2 separate regions of the Homo sapiens genome follow, and region 2 is linked to region 1. Evidence: promoter capture Hi-C in human tissues and cell types (Jung and others, 2019). All regions are on one chromosome and are shown on one strand. The core of a region is centred on a gene start or on the middle of the fragment in contact, and the rest is flanking DNA. Distances in the headings are between cores, read along the strand shown. Region 1 holds the start of SPR (sepiapterin reductase). Region 2 has its middle 220 kb from the start of DYSF.

Region 1 (3,095 bases), core at 367-2,866:
ACAGTGTGGTCAGTCCTATTTAACAATGAGGCAACACTTCACAGGTCAGGGTCATTTTCACATACAGTATCTCATTCAGTCTTCCCAAGTGCCCTGTGAGGCAGGGAGCGTCTTCCCCATTTCACATGAGGAAGGCCTGGAACTCAAACCCCAGTCTTCTCCCAAACTCCATCTAATACCTCAGACCTTCCTGCCCCACCCTCCAGTCCAGGAAACTCCTCACTCTCTACCAGTATCCCCGGCCCCTGCCACCTCTATTTCCCCTGGGTCTGTATTTCCCCTAAGGGGTGATGGGTCAAGATTCAAGGACAAAATCCTGTGGGTTGTTTCCTGGAGGGGGCGGACTAGGCCGCTTGCCCAGCCCCCAGAGGCGCACCAGTGGGTTCTGGAGGACAGGGACGGCAGGACTTCCCACCTACCTGGGGCATAGTTCAGCACCCTCACATTAGGTTCCTCCAGCGCCAGGACCTGGAACAGCATATCACGAGCAGCCTTTCCTGCACAGTACAGCGCCCAGCCTTTGAAAGGTTGCAGGGCACAGAGGGACGAGATGTTAACCACGGTTCTGTTGAGGCCAGGACTGTCCGGGAAGGCCTTCAGGACGCTGGAAGTCAGGCAGAGCATGGAGGTCAAGTTCAGTGCCCAGTAGTTGTTCACTTGAGTGGAGTCACTCAGGTCCACGAAGCCTTTGGACACATCCCCAAGAGAGCCTGAAAAACCAACCCTTAGGAGTAACTCAGTGCAGGCGGGGCTTTCTTCTTCCCCAGCCCTCCCAAGTTCCTCCAGATATCCTCTTCCCATGCAGACCTAGAGGAGGAAGCTGCCTAGCGCTTCTGAAGAGGCTTCTCTCTTCCCCAGCTCTGCGGAAAGACACAGCTGGGGAACCTAGCCATCCCAAGCTGCAGAATGAGAAGGCACCTGCCTTGCCGTGGGGCTGAAGGAAAGCTCTAGCGGTCCTTTGGAGAAGCAGAGAGTTTACTTGTTTGGAGACTCCAAGCCCTGACTCAGGCCTCCGCCAGAGGGCGCAGAGCAAGGGGCTCGGGAAAGTTCTACAGGCGCTTTGGAAAACCCGGCTGGCCAATTTTCCAGGAAGTGGGGGCAGACTGTTGTCCCGACGGCACCGAGTCTTCCTGTACACCTCGCCTCCACTTGCTACTCAAGCTGGAACAACTAGGGCTTTAGATTTCTAGGCGTCCTATCTGACCCCTAGGAGTAGCCCTTAAATTCCCCAGCGGTGGAGGAAGTGGGCGCTCACATGGGGAGTCCGCTCCAGCCCCGGGGTCTTACCCGCGTTGTTGATAAGCAGCAGTCGCTGCAGCCCCTTGGGCCGGGGGAGCTCGCGCAGGGCGCCGAGCAGCTGCTGCAAGCCGGCCTCGGCGCCCAGGTCGGCGGGCACCCGCACCACGCGCAGGCCAGACCGCTCGGCGCCCAGCTCGGCCTCCAGCTGGCGCAGTGCCTCGTCGTTGCGGGCGCTAAGGACAAGCACGGAGCCGGGCGACAGCAGCGAGGCCAGGAGCGGGGCCAGCGTCCGGCCGAAGCCGCGGGAGGCCCCGGTCAGCAAGCACACAGCACGCCCCAGCCCGCCCTCCATGCTCCTGTTCTCCGCCGGCGGCGCTGGCACCCGAGACCAGGCAGGAGGCGGTGCGGCCGCGGGGGGCGGGACCGCTACGGGTGTCGGCGGGGCCGCCCTGCCGGGGCGGGGCGGGAACCTCAGGCTTCGGGCCGCGAGCGCCCAGGGGTGCTGGTTCCCTTGGGATCTGGTTCCCTTGGTTGCTGGTGGCGGAAGTCAAACCGTGGCGGTAGCCCAGTCCGTGCCAAGTGGGACAACAGAGAGGGCCGGCAGGCGCGGCCCACACGGAAAGCCCTAGCCCGGTTCCCAGCGCTGCCGTGTTCTTCGCCCGCAAGCTCAGCCTCCGGCTGGGACGCATGCTCGAATTTCCTCCCAGTTCCAGCCCTAACTTTGCACTACTGACCTCTTCCAGGGCAGGCCCTGCACTGGGTGCTGGGCGTCCCTGGTCGTGGCCAGTGAACACCCTGAATGAAGCTTATGCCTGTTTAGGAATTGAAGTCTCTGCTTGTTTGGGAGCTCACCGCTCTCTGGATGACAGGAGCTTCCTCTGGGAGAACCACAGTGGCTCCAAATGATATTAAAACCTTTCCCTTTTACTAGGCCCTGAGCAGCTCCGTGATCCCACCAGTAACCCCTGCTTCTCTGAGATTTCTGACTCCTGTCCCTAAAAGTGTGTTCCCCAGGATTCTGCTCCTGCTCATGCTACAGTCTCCCTGGCAGCAATTCCATCCACTTTCAGCTTCAAGTTTGCGCAATCATCTGTCTGTACCTCCAGGCAGGTGCTTCAGAAAAATCCACATTTTTTTTTTTCTAGGAGAGGAGGAACGTGAGACAAGTTGGCATGCAGCTACATATATTAAAAAGGAATCTCTTCATGGTTTCCTTCTTAGTGGCCGAGTGGTATTCCATTGTGTATATACATATGTCCAAATATTGTGTGTCAGTTTTTAAAAAACGAATCTCTTTAGAGTTTAGCAAGGGCAGTAAGTAACCTCTGATAACTTAGCCCAATTCCCCACAGGGCTGATCCCTCCCCTGGGGCTAAACAGCAAAGTTACCGCCTTTCCACTATTATTGCCAACTCTAAGGAAGAAACAACTTGGAGGAAGGCTTTTTTCTTTTCTTTTTTCTTTTTTTTGACAGAGTCTCGCTCTGTGGCCCAAACTGAAGTGCAGAGGTGTGATCACAGTTTACTGCAGCCTTGAATTCTTGGGCTCAAGCAATCCTTCCACCTCAGGCTCCTGAGTAGCTAGGATTACAGGTGCGCACCACCACGCCTGGCTAATTGTTTTTTAAGCTTTTGGTATTTTAACGCTGATAAGACTCTGTATATGTGTATACCATTTGAAGTTGCCCTGCTTTTCACTTACCTATTCACACTGAAGATAAAGATCTCATTGGCCCAACAGCTTACTATTTAAAGAATTTTAATAGCTTCTCCCTGCTCTCCAGGCCTTAGAAGACAGGTTGATGAAAGCACGATCCCATCCATCCATTCATTTGACATTTGTTAAATTTCTACCAT
Region 2 (3,095 bases), core at 231-2,730, 1.2 Mb after region 1:
TCGCTCAGTGGCAGGGGCAGGACTTGGGCCACTGTGTGACTGATTCCAAACTTCATGCCCTTAACCACCAGGCTGGAGGAAGATCTCTGCCGTCCAGGCATCTGTTAGGCTGGGAATCCCTTTTTAGACTGAAGAAGGCTTTGGCCCTGATGTGCTGCTGCCACACGGAGCCTCCTAGCTGCATCTGGATCTGCAAGGTTGGGGGAGAGCTCCCAGGCCAGTGGCTCCAATGAGAGCTGAGAGGGGCACTTTTCCTGGGGTTTCAGGGTATCTTTCTGTCTTCTGTATCCTGAGGCATCTTTGACCTCGTCCTCTTCTACAGGCAGTAAGCCCGGATGGTAAAAGTGCTCCAGGGGAGGGAGAGGGAAAAACAGATCACAAAGAGGCAAAATACACCAGCAGGTATTTTAAAAATGTATTACCCTTTATACATGTGAGTGATTTGTGTATTTCGCTCTTTTGTTTTGCCCTTGGTTCTCGGTCAAGTTCCTTTAGAAAAGATCCCAGAACACCTCTGTTGACGTAAAGGGAAGAGTGTCCTACCTAGACCTGAGCTCAATGAGGACACAAGTGGGCTCCACAAAGTCCCCCCAGGGGGGCCCCGATCCCCCACAGGAATGCGAGGTGGGAGTCTGAGGAGGGAGTCCGAAGAGCATGAAGCAGAGGCAGGCTCCAGGCTAGGCGGGTGGTGGAAACAGGGAGAACCGGCCAGCAGGGGCAAGCGGTAAGCCTGGGCGCCAGCAGAATGGTGTGGCTCCGGAGCTGCCTGGATGAGGAGCACGTGGAGGAAATGCTCCGGCGATTGCGTGAGGTTCTTGGTCTTGTTCCTGTCCCCGGCTGCCACTGTCATTCTGTCTCTGCCCCTCACCATGAGTCTGTTTCTCTCTGCATCTGCCTCATCTGCTGTCTCTCTGTCGCACACACACCCCCGACCCCATGAAAAACCGAGACCAAAACAAAGGCAGAGAAACAGAGTCTGCAAGCCATGCTGGGCCAAGCCACAGGGAATAGGAGCCGTAGCTATTTTTCCCTGGAGGGAGGAACAAAAGCACATGGGGAAAGGGGAGAGGGGAAGGTTGGCGTCACTCATTTCAATAGCTCGCAGCCGTGTGAGGACCTCGTGTGTCGGGGTGAACCCTTGCCCTCACCCAGTTCTCTTTCCAAAGCAGGAAACGTTTCCTGGGCTGTCACCGGGTCCCAGTCAGGGGATGCCCACCTGGCTCCTCTGGAAATCCCATAATCCTAAATTTATGAAACACATGGAGAGAGGATTGAGACAAGTTTGAGTTCCCTGGGGGTGGAGGCAAACTGGGGAGGGGTTGTGGGCTGGACAGCAGGGGCTACACTCAGAGCCCTTTCTGTCTGTCCACGCTCCCATCACCCCATCCTGGACTATCCACACAGCCCTGGAAAAGGAGCAGAAAATGGTGTGTGTGTGTGTGTAATCTCTCAAAAACACCAGCAGACATCACCCCATCCTGGACTATCCACACAGCCCTGGAAAAGGAGCAGAAAATGGTGTGTGTGTGTGTGTAATCTCTCAAAAACACCAGCAGACAAAATAAAGGCAGGGAACTGAGTATTCCGGATACAAAAGGCTTATCAAGCTTTATTGAACCGCTTTTCTTTCACAGATGAGAGTTATTCTCCACCTTGCTGCAAGAATTGGTCTCAAATGTTGAGAACTAACTGAATTTAGGAACATAAAACCCTATTTGAAATGGCTCTGAGAGCCTGGCTATTTAAAGAAAACTTGCAATGAAACACTTAGTAAAGTCCCTTCAGTGAAGGAAGCAGACATCTCATTAAGAATTGAGATGTGATTTCAGCCCTGGAGGCGCAGACTCCAGGGGTGGGGGTGGGACAGTCAAGTCTGCCGGTTTCAATGGAGTGTTAACAAGCCCTGTAACCGAAGAGGGACCGCGTTGACTGAGTGTGGCAGACAGGCACCAGGGCAGGACAGGGGGAACACCCGGAGGAAAGGGCCAAGCTGAGACCCAAGAGATGGGCACGGCAGAAGGAAAGGCAAGAGGTGAGCAGGGAGAGCGAGCAGGGCTGGCCTCCCTCCTGAGGGCAGTGGAGAACCACGCAGGGAAGATCTGAGAGAGAGGAATGGCCAAAGGCAGTAGCATTTGGGTTTCAATGACGTTGGCCTGCTAGGGGCCTGATCATAAGTGGAGATGGTGGTAATGGGAAAAGAAGTAGCTTGACTCAGATTCAAGAAGCAGAATTTGTGGGATTTGGTGATGTGTTGGATATGAGGAGTAAGAGGCGATAGGCCTCAAGGATGCCTCCCACAAGTGCAGCTCCAGGGACTAGATGGGTGGAGGGAAAAATAGAGCAGGAGTTTTATAATGGGGTGGAGGATGGAGACTTTGAGTGGGAGGGTTTGAGTTCATAGTGCCAGTGCGTAAGCAGTACACTAAGGCGCCTGCAGCGGAGGGGAGAAACTGGGCTACAGTGAGGGATTCCGGGTTCATTCACCTGTAGAAGGCAGAGAAAGTGGGGCAGGTGAGGGTGCCTAGGAGCCATACAATACGAGAACAGCGCCAGGGAAAGAGACCTGGGGAACATCACAGACGAACAGAGAGGGACGCCAAGCCACAGGGAGAGGAGGACCACCAGGCGACTGTGGTATCACAGAAGCTGGGTACAGACAGAAGGTTGATCAAGAAGCAGAGAACGTCCGTGCTGTCAGCCACAGCTGAGTCGTGAAGGGTGAGCGCCCACAGATTTAACCACCAAGGCTAGATTGTGCCCTTGTGTGAATTAGAAAAAGGTGCCCCTTCCTCAAGGTAATTTACTTCTATCAGAAAACTACTGTAACACACTGATTTTATTAGAACAAAACACTTTACTGCCATCTGTGGGAAAATTGCTATAATAAATAATAAACGTATGATGTCTTAGATGTGGTGCCTGTGCACGGCAGCCGTGGTTATTGCAGATGGCAGTGAAAACCGGTTTCAGAGGAGCAGAATGAAATTCGCCGGCAAGGAGGCTTGGAGCTGTGGGTAACACAGGACCCAACCAAAGATGGCTTACGCTACAAGGAATGTATGGCCCTGAGTCACAAGCTGTCTCCTCTGGTGGTA

What was found. The method cuts DNA at HindIII sites, captures the fragments that hold promoters and counts their contacts. A contact is called where the count stands out against the background at its distance.
Region 2: a contact is called between a fragment that was not itself captured here and the fragment with the promoter of SPR in region 1, in 1 of the 25 tissues and cell types used here (heart left ventricle).

What each region holds. Positions count from the first base shown.
Region 1 is chr2:72,885,929-72,889,023 of GRCh38, reverse strand. It overlaps SPR (sepiapterin reductase), which reads right to left and starts at 1,616. Exons shown (of 3, transcript NM_003124.5): 1 at 1,288-1,616; 2 at 420-710. The coding sequence starts at 1,591. RefSeq lists silencers at 562-736, 1,375-1,764. The HindIII fragment of the contact is 16,003 bases long and covers 1-2,456 here.
Region 2 is chr2:71,689,941-71,693,035 of GRCh38, reverse strand. No RefSeq gene overlaps it. Among named protein-coding and RNA genes, the nearest start is that of DYSF, 220 kb to the right of the region's middle. The HindIII fragment of the contact is 4,339 bases long and covers 1-3,095 here.